Regions from separate parts of the Homo sapiens genome. Here region 1 is linked to region 2. Evidence: promoter capture Hi-C in 16 types of primary human blood cells and fetal thymus (Javierre and others, 2016). All regions are on one chromosome and are shown on one strand. The core of a region is centred on a gene start or on the middle of the fragment in contact, and the rest is flanking DNA. Distances in the headings are between cores, read along the strand shown.

What was found. Contacts are between HindIII fragments. The CHiCAGO score rates a contact against its expected background, and 5 or more counts as called.
Region 1: a contact is called between a fragment that was not itself captured here and the fragment with the promoter of ACY1 in region 2, in 4 of 17 cell types (M2 macrophages, naive CD8 T cells, naive CD4 T cells and 1 more). The highest score is 9.0, in M2 macrophages.

The regions. Positions count from the first base shown.
Region 1 is chr3:52,339,073-52,344,157 of GRCh38, reverse strand. The region is part of intron 8 of DNAH1 (dynein axonemal heavy chain 1); the gene reads right to left. Among named protein-coding and RNA genes, the nearest start is that of DNAH1, 25 kb to the right of the region's middle. RefSeq lists an enhancer at 104-605. The HindIII fragment of the contact is 5,475 bases long and covers 1-4,445 here.
Region 2 is chr3:51,981,967-51,986,655 of GRCh38, reverse strand. It overlaps ACY1 (aminoacylase 1), which reads right to left and starts at 3,121. Exons shown (of 15, transcript NM_000666.3): 1 at 3,067-3,121; 2 at 2,498-2,609; 3 at 1,385-1,449; 4 at 1,191-1,295; 5 at 710-804; 6 at 325-401; 7 at 152-241; 8 at 1-51. The coding sequence starts at 2,591. It overlaps ABHD14A-ACY1 (ABHD14A-ACY1 readthrough), which reads right to left. Exons shown (of 17, transcript NM_001316331.2): 4 at 2,498-2,609; 5 at 1,385-1,449; 6 at 1,191-1,295; 7 at 710-804; 8 at 325-401; 9 at 152-241; 10 at 1-51. RefSeq lists a silencer at 3,087-3,536. The HindIII fragment of the contact is 7,715 bases long and covers 2,137-4,689 here.

The sequences.
Region 1 (5,085 bases), core at 459-2,958, 360 kb before region 2:
CAGCCTGCACCTCCCCTGCAGCACCCCCGCCTGCTGCCCCATGGTGCAGTGGAAGATGCCTGCCACTGAGCTCCTTTGCTTTCACTGGGCAATCATGGCAGCGCCTGGAAGGTGCTGAGAACTCAGGATGTGCCCATGACTGGGCCTGAGGGTGGGTGACCCCTGCACTTCACTTTGAAACTGGGCTCCGAGATCGGAAATCAGCAGACCTGGGGTGAGCGTGCACACCATCTCCCCCGTCCTCACATAGGCAGACCCCTTGGAGGCCATTTCACTCACTCACTCACTCGCTCACTCACTCCTCAGCACACGTTGCCTATGCCGCTGTGTTCCGGCACCTGGCTTGCTCAGGCCTCATCTGAGCCAGCTGGCATCTCTGTCCTTTGCGGACAGGCCTTTCTGTTCCTTGAGTTGGTCTCTGCCATCGATCTCTCCCTCCCTCCCACCTCTGCCACATCTGAATAGTCCCTTTAGCCCTGGTAATGGCACCACAAGGGAATCTCAGTTTCCTGCAGCCCACACTTGCACCAGAGCTGCGGGATGTTGGAGAACTTCGTAGGCAGGGGACTGGTCTCACCTTCAACACACCCTCAACCTGGCCTAGAAATCTACTCACTCCCTCGGAACCTGGAAAAGACTCTCTCTCACCTTCTCTGCCAACTCACAGACACACCCTCCCTCACTGGGTGAAGTCCCTCGAATTTCATCCGGAACTCAGAAGCCATTGGACAGAAATGACCCCATCTTCACACCCCGGAATCTCCCTGCCTTCTGCCAGGGTAGAAGGCATGCCCTGCTCTCAGGAAAAGCCCAGCAAGCTCAGCCACCTCAGTCTCTTTGCCTTCCCTCCCACGCCCTCCCAGGGGTCCCCACACACTCTGGTATGTCCCACATTAGAAGCCGCCCCTTGACTTCCTTCCCTCCTTTGACTTTATCTCTTTGTGTTTCTTTATGAAAAACTGGTGTGCTCACTTCTTCCCATCCTCATCTCTTCCCTCGCTACCCCTGAGGCCACTCCAGGCTCTGCCTCATCTCACTGGACTCTCAGAGACTTGGCACAGTGGCTCCCTCCTATTCTGCTGCACCGCTGTCCTCACGGAGCTTCTGGGACACCCTTCCCCTGGATCTTCCTCACCTCCCTGACTTCTAAACGTTGGCCTGTGCCAGGGGTCCTGAGACCCCTCGTCTTCCCCAGCTATACCTCCCACCAGGTGAGCTCCTCCAGCCTCGGACTCTGAACACCACCTGTTCTATTCAGCCAGAACCCTCACACCTATCTGCAGTTCTCTCCCTTCATTTATCCACCAGCCCACTCAACACTGACACTGGATGCCTTACAACGTGTCAGAACCAGCATGTCAGAAGGCAAGCTCTTCATTTCTCTCCATCCCCTGTTCCTCGCTTGCCCCCTATCCCCACTAGCCTCCTTGTCTCTGAACAGCATTGCACACACCCTACTGACCAAAGCCCTACGGAGGGGTCCCTGGTCTCTTCCTGCTACTGGATGTGCAACACCATGACTGGGCCTGAGGGTGGGTGACCCCTGCACCTGATCCTGAAACTGGGCTTTGAGATTGGAAATCCCCAGACCTGGGGTGAGCTTGCATTTAGTCCATTAGCAGCTCTCATTGGCTCCACCGCTGAGGAAACCTCAAATATATCTCTTTCTCCCGTGCTGCTCAGCTACTATTCTGGTTCAAGCCACCATCATGATCTCTGGCCCTGATTATGGCATTAGTCTCCTCATTGATCTCCCTGCTTCCACTCTTGCCCCCTTACAACTCATTCTCTACTTGAGTTGGAAAAAATATATTTTAAACATGTAAACGATCAAGCCACTCCTCTGCTCACCACCACCCATGGCCTGCACAGACTGTCGGCCTGTGGCCGCGTCTCTGCCCCTGCATGTGGTCCAGCCTCCCAGACCAACATCTCTCTCTGCATCCCAACCACAGTAACCCTGCCCTGCTCCTCAAGTACCACAAACTTGTCCCTACCTCAGCCTCTGCACTGCTGCTCCTTCTGCCAGAATCCTCTTCTTCCCTTACTTTAGACCTCAACTCAAATGTTATCACCACTGTGAGAAAGGCTTTCCCTGACCGCCTAATATAAAGAAGCCCTTCTGAGACATCTCTATTCCCTTCTCTCGCTTGGTCTTCACAGCACTTATCAGAACCCTAAAAACCCAGATTTTTCATTGTCTGTCTTTCTGGCCAGGCTGAGAGTCCCCAGGGTGCAGGCTCTTTGTTGGAAATGTTCACTCCTCTGTACCCAGTGTCTGGCACAAGATGGGTACTTCCACACATGGCTGCTTGCTGGCCTGACATCCACTCCCTCCCTTCTTCCTCAGTTTTGTTCCAGAATTCCATCCTTCCTCACTTGACTCAGGGGAAGATGACTACAGCCCCAGCTACAGGGGTACATCTCAGCTAGTCCAAGCCAGTCGTGGTGGAGCTTGCCCCAACTGCAGTTGGTTTAGGTGTGGGAACACGTCCCAGTTATGATCAACCACTGATGCAGATATATAAAAGTCAAGCCCTTTGCAGTGAGCTAAGATTGCTCCACTGCACTCTAGCCTGGGGGACAGAGCAAGACCCTGTCTCAAAAAAAAAAAAAAAAAAAAAAAAGTCAAAGTCAAGCCCTCTTGTTCTGGCTCCCTCCAGGACAAATACGGTGGTGCCATGCTTGCTCTAGAGTTTCCCACAGGATCAGGCTGAGACTAGACTTCTAAAACCATATTTTACCAGCTGCTTCTTCTATTATACCCTGCTTCCTTCACTTCCTTATAGATTTCTCCTGAGAGGATTTCATAAATCGCTTGCACAAGAGTCCCCACATCAGGGTCTGCTTCTACGGAACCCAATCTAAGACAACCTTTGTTGTGGTCATGAAACTGCTGCTGCCATCTCGCCTGAAGATGAAGCCAGCATACACTGCAGACAGGGCCCTGATGCACCAACCCTGGGGCGTCCTGCATTGGTTTTCCTGCTACAGGTACAGGAATGCACTTCCCTGCTGTCTAAGACAATCTGAGACCAGCATCTTTGATACTTAAAGCCAAAAACATTATAAATTGAATAAAATTCAAGAAACAGACTTCTGGACAGCCAAGGTAAGGTGGCTATATCGATTCAAATTTCCCAACACATCCTAGGAAGGAAGGAAGGAAGGAAGGAAGGGAGGGAGGAAGGAAGGAAGGAAGAAAAAACTAACACTACCAAAACCCACACCTTTAGCACAACTAGAATCAGCAGAATGCCTAGACTTCAAATTATCTGTAAATTAAAAAAAAAAAATCTATCTCCAGTGAGCTGTCTCTCACACTCTTGCTGCAAGTTTTCACAGAGAACAAGGGCAGTCTAAGAAAAACTGCAGAAAAGGGAAATAGTGGTAACCCTAAGATAGATCTAAAATCCTACCAGAGGCCGGGCACAGTGGCTCATGCCTGTAATCCCAGCACTTTGGGAGGCCGAGGTGGGTGGATCACCTGAGGTCAGGAGTTCAAGACCAGCCTGGCCAACATGGTGAAGCCCCGTCTCTACTAAAAATACAAAAATTAGCTAGGCGTGGTGGTAACCACCTGTAGTCCCAGCTACTCGGGAGGCTGAGGCAGGAGAATCATTTCAACACAGAGGGCAGAGGTTGCAGTAAGCTGAGATCACACCACTGCTCTCCAGACTGAGTGACAGAGCAAGACTTCATCTCAAAAAATAAATATAAATAAATAAATAAATAAATAAATAAATAAAATCCTACCAGAAAGAGAAAGTAACCCAGGCTGGGCGCAGTGGCTAATGCCTATAATCCCAGAACTTTGGGAGGCCAATGTGGGTGGATGAATTGAGCCCAGGAATTCGAGACCAGCCTGGGCAACAAAGTGAGACCCCCATCTCTACAAAAAATAAAAAAATAGCGGGTGTGGTGGCACATGCCTGTAGTCCCAGCTACCAGGGAGGCTGAGGCAGGAGGATTACTTGAGCCCAAGAGTTTGAGGCTGCAGTTAGCTGTGATTATGCCACGGCACTCCAGCCTGGGTGAAAGTGAGACCGTATCTCAAAAAAAGAGAAAGTAACCCTAACTGTAAAAATACTGAAAAAAAGCCCTGGTAAATCAGAGCACTTACTACAAGGAAGGGACTTAAGGGCATGCAATTCAAAGGCAGTGTTCTTTGAAAGGCATATGACTTATGGGACAGGAGGCAGAAGGAAAGGGGTCATTTGTAGACTGGAGGATAAGGGAAAAGAAGCAAAAGTGAAATGTTGAGTTCTGCAAGATAAGAGGACAAAAACCTTGGAGGACCCACATCCCTCTCCCCAGCACGTGTGTACACACACACACACACACACACACACAGACACACACACAGAGCACATTCTAAAAACAAACAAACAAAAAAAACTAATGTGCAATACTGACAGAAGAGGGCGCCCTTGAACTAGAAAGCTTGCAAATCACTCCAAATCCTGAAATGAATAGGTGAACACCGTCTACATTTGCTTCTATAAGAAAAAGAGAGCATCTTTTAGCTTTGTTTGCACATTTGAGAAGACAAGAGCATCTTAACTGATAAAATTCCCATCACCCCTAAAAAAATAAACAAGTACCAAGCAGAAGAAAACTGTAACACAATACTTCAGCTAAATAGCCTTAAACGAGTGTTTGGGCATCTGAAAAACCACCTTGAATCAGAAATTCAAAAATAAAACATATAAATGGACAAATGTCGGTAAGAAAAGAGACTTAATTAAGCTCAAGGAAAAAATGGAAAATAAAAGTATCACGGGGAGGAAGCTGAAATTACAAGGTGACCGAGAGAAAACAGAGTCAAATCAAAGCATAATGAAGTAAATTGAAGAAAGGCAGGATATAACCAAGAGAATAAAAATGAGAGAAAATAAAGGAAGTAAAAGAAAGAAAATAAAATTTTAAAAAATAAAATTAGAAAAAACTAAAAAGGGTCGGAAACTGGTTGAATTAAAAGATACGCAAAGCAGCAGCAATATATAAAAAGATACATAGATACATAGAGATATAGATACATAATGGAATCCTTGATGAAGAAAAACAAAAGAATGGAACAGAACC
Region 2 (4,689 bases), core at 1,872-4,371:
GACTCCGCTCACTATAAAAGACAGTGAAGGCATCAGTGGGATTGGCTATGCCTGAGGAGGGAAAGGGGGTTCAGAGGGTGGAGCAGCTCAGTCCCCACTAGCAGCCTCCTACTCCCTGCCTGGCTGCTCATTGGCTTGCCAACCTGCTCACCCTCATCCAGGGCAAAGCCTGCCCTCAGGGCGTGGAACTCAGGCCGCTGCACGAACAGCTCCATGCCTTGGTGACCCCCAACCTCCTCATCTGTAAAAGCAGCAGGGACGTGAGATGAGGAGGCTGCCCCGCCCCACCCTCCCCTTTCCCAAAGGTATCTGAGCCACTCCTACCAGGCACAAAGGTCATGTGGATGGTTCTGGGGAACCGGTGGCCCTCCACCTTCAGCCTCCTCACAGCTTCCAGGTACCTGAGGGGGCATAAGCCAGGTGCTGGGGGAGCCACCAGATGCGCAGGCTGGCCCCACAGGCAGGGCCAGCAGGCTGGAGTCCTGTGTCCTGGACTTTACCCTGCCACACCCTGATAGGGACTCCAGAAAGTCCCTGCCCCTCTCTGGTCTGAATCTCCCTATCCATGCAATGGTCATGGCAGTAGTTCCTGTCCAAGAGGTCACGGTGTTCCTTGGCCTTGAGTTTCTCCAATCACCCCCTCAGGTCCTGCTTCAATCCACTGGACCAGTGGGGACATTGTGGAGGAGTAGGAATGGAGGACACTCACTGGATGCTGACGCACTTCATGTCCTGGGCACCCCTGGCATAGATGTAGCCCTCAGAATCCTTGAAGGCCTCAAAGGGGTCGTGACTCCAATGTTCCTGGGGGCAGGGATGGGAAGAGGGGCCCAAACCCCAAATTTAGCCATTAATCCACTCTGGTCAACAGTGGCCCTGCCCTAGGAGCCCACCATAGGGTTGGAGTGACAGGTGGAGTGGTGGGAGAGGAAAGACGGGGGCTGAAGAAGGCAGCTGATTGCCATCCCCCATTGCTGTCTCCTGCTTCCCACCCCCCAGTCCCCACCCCACTCTGGCCCAGAACTTGCTGCTGGATGAAGGCTGCTTGAGTGGTGTAATGTCATAAGGATGTTGAGAGTTAGTGTCAGGACTGGGGCCAGGACCATGAGCAACTTGAGGTTGAATCCTGGGGTCTGCATCATGTCTGTCCCCAAGGCCTGCACTGCCCACCTCCCCAGCCCCTTACACACCTTGAAGACAGGCACCACATCCGTGTGGGAGTTGAGCAAGATGGAGGAGAGTGTAGGGTTGGTGCCTGGCCAGGTCAACACGGTCACCACATAGCCAGGTGCCACCTGGAGATGGTCAGGAGGGTAGGTGGTCTGAGCAGGGTGAGGAAGTGCCCAGGCCCACCTCCCTTCCCCGCTTAGGGCCCCAGGCTCACCTCTACTTTCTGACAGCCCAGGCCCAGCTGGCGGGCTGTCTCCTCAAAGAAAGCCACAGCAGCTCCTGGAGGCACAGAGTGTCTTGGGGCTGCTTCTGCCTACCCACAGCTTCCCACCAGCCCAGGCAGCCCGGAGAGTGGAGCATACCCAGAAATGGGCTGCTGCCTCCCCGACACACTCCATATCCCTCAGAGATGCTTGCATTTCCATCCCCAAGAAAGAAGATATTTTTGGCTACTCAGTGACCCTTTCTGGAAGTCCAGGGGGATGTCTGGACACAGGGTTGGAGGAAGGTGTTATCTTCCTTAAATATGGGAAACTATGGCACAGAGACATGAAGAGATTCACCCACCATCTCTCAGCTGATTAATCACAGAGGAGGAATTTGGACCCATGTACACAATTCCCAGCCACTAAGTTTTTTTTTTTTCTTTTCCTTTTTTTTTTTTTTTTTTTGAGACAGGGTCTCACTCTGTCACCAAGGCAGGAGTGAAGTGGTGCGATCTCGGCTCACTGCAGCCTCAACCTCCCAGGCTCAAGCGATCCTCCCACCTCAACCTCTGGAGTAGCTGGGACTACAGGTGTGCCACCATTCCTGACTAATTTTTGTATTTTTTCTGTAGAGACAGAGTCTTGCCATGTTGCTCAAGCTAGTCTTGAACTCCTGGGCCCAAGCAATCTGCCAGCCTCAACCTCCTGAAGTGCTGGGATAACAGGCAGGAGCCACCTCCCAGGCCCTAGCCACCAAGCTTGACTCCCTAAGGGCTGTGGCCTTTGTCCAGCCCCAGTGGGCTTCTGGAGGGCCTCTCCTTTCCCTGTGGCTGCCTCAGGCTTCCCCCACCACTCCTGCCCTGGAGAGTGAGGTGAAGTTTTTCTTTAACCAGCTGCCAGGAGTAACCTTGGTCAGCAGCAGAGTCTCTGGGGAAAGGGTTCCTCCCTAACCTGGAGGGGCTGCCTCAGTCTATTTACTTGGGGAATGGCTGGAGGGGTTGGGGAGCCATTTGGGACAGCAGAGTGGGGCTCAGCTGGGTGACAGGGGTTGGAGGCTGGTTTAGAGCACAGTCCCCGTCCCTTAGGCCCCGTCACAGGCTCTGGAACCACCGTCTTCTCACCATAGTCAGGCTTGGGCTGGACAGTGCGGATACGCAGGTACTGGCGGAAGAGCGTCACCGATGGGTGCTCCTCCTCGGGACCCTTGCTGGTCATGGCGCTGCGCGTGGTGAGCTGGGGGCAAAGTGAATGGCTAACTACCCCTCCAAGACCCTGGAAATGGTGAGCTCCTGCACACAGCCTGTCCCCACGGCGGCTCCCGGACTTCCCACAGGGGTAGGATACCGTGTTTCGGAGCCCCCATTAAGGAGCACCCATTCTGTTTCAGGCGCTGGGCTGTCTGCTTCCAGCACATTTCCTTATTTAATCCCCAAAAGAGCCCCATGAAGTTTGTGCTCAGAATGCCCACTTTACAGAGGAGAAAGCTGAGAGGCTCAGAGAGGTTCAAGGACAGCTCATAGAGTAGCTGAGCAAGGTTTGAACCCAGACTTGTACTCCCCCCGCCCTCCTAAAAAAAAAAAAAGGCAAAAACAAAAACAAAAAACAAACAAGAAAAACCCCAACGCCTCCCAGTTGCCCGGCTTTCAAGCCACGGAGCCCCAGTCCCTCTATCCCTCCCCAGGGCCCCCACCTCACTCTCCTGTCGCTGGGCTCACGCTCGCCTCTCAGCGCCCTTCCCTGACTGTGGCCTGGACTTAGGGTCCAGCGAGGTCGCCTGCGAGGTCGCAGGCTCAGGACCGCCCCGGTCCGCCCACCACGTGGCCGAGGCCGGATGTCGGGGCGGAGACCGAAGACCGTCAGTGAGGGCCGTCCCGGCGCCAGCGGCCGCGTCGGCGCGGATGTCCCCGCCCGCCTCTGGTTCGGGCCTCAGCGAGATTACTGGAGGATTAGATCCGGATCCCGTCCCCGGGCAGCGGCCGCCGCGGCCAGCGCCGCCCCGCGAGTTGCGAGCTCCGGGCTGGCCCTGCTCTGACAGGCTCGCCCCGCCCCACACGACACGCCTGCCACTCCTGCCCCCAGGTATGCGCCGGGAGCTCAGGACGGTCCCGTCCCCTAAGGGCGCCTCCTCCTTCAGCCCCCGGATAGGGCGGGAGGAAAGGGGGCCGCCCCGAGGCTCTCAAGATGCAGAGCTGCAAAGCCCTGGGCCTGCGCCCTCGCCCTCCTCGGCAAGTCTCCAACGGCTCCCCACTGCAGGCCTCAGCCCCTCGGGGAGGTCCTCCCTGACGCCTCAGCTCCACTTGTACTGAAGTTATTGGCCAATGTCTGTCTGCCCACACTGAACTCCAGGAGGCTGTGAGCTCCACTTCCTGCAAGGTTCTGCCCGGGGCCGTGCCGAGCCCGGACAGTGCCTAGAATGGGAATGAATGCATGGACAAGAGCACGTGTGACGGTTTAAGCGTGCCACTGCGTGTGCAGTCTATCAGTGGATATGATTGTGTATGTGACAGTGTGAGATGGTGGGTGGGTGTGATGAAGTCACTGTGAATGGATGTAATTGTGACCCTGGATGGACAGTGTGAGGAAACTGGCTCTTCTGCAGCCACCAGAGGGGGAGGCTAAACAGGCACAGGTGTACCACTGGCCCCCTGCAGGCCACAGCTGCAGTTGCCCACTTGTGCCCCAGCTGCCCTTTGTACTCCCAGCCAGGTCTGCCCTCTGCTCCAGGGGCTGAGTCAGCTTGGGGAAGGGTGAGGGACAAAGACTTCAATCTCTAGGCCAAGGAGGCACGCTGTGGGAAGGGTTCTGTCCCACCTTTCCTGAGGTTTAAGTCTTGGCTGCTCACACATAACATGGGGGCAAATGGACTTTAACTCATAACAATGCTGGATAATTCTTTATTTAGTTATTTTTTTGATACAGAGTCTCACTCTGTCATGCGGGCAAATAGATTTTAACTCACAACAATGCTGGCTAATTATTTACCTATTTATTCATGCGGGCAAATAGACTTTAACTCATAACAATGCTGGCTAATTATTTAGCTATTTATTTTTTTGAGATGGAGTCTCACTCTGCTGCCCAGGCTGGAGTGCAGTGGCTCCTTCTCGGCTCGCTGAAAACTCCGCCTCCTGGGTTCAAGTGATTCTCCTGCCTCAGCCTCCAGAGTAGCTGGGATTACAGGTGCGTGCCACCACGCTGGGCTAATTTTTGTATTTTTAGTAGAGACAGGGTTTGTCATGTTGGCCAGGGTGGTCTTGAACTCCTGACCTCAGGTGATCCACCCGCCTTGGCCTCCCAAGGTGCTGGGATTACA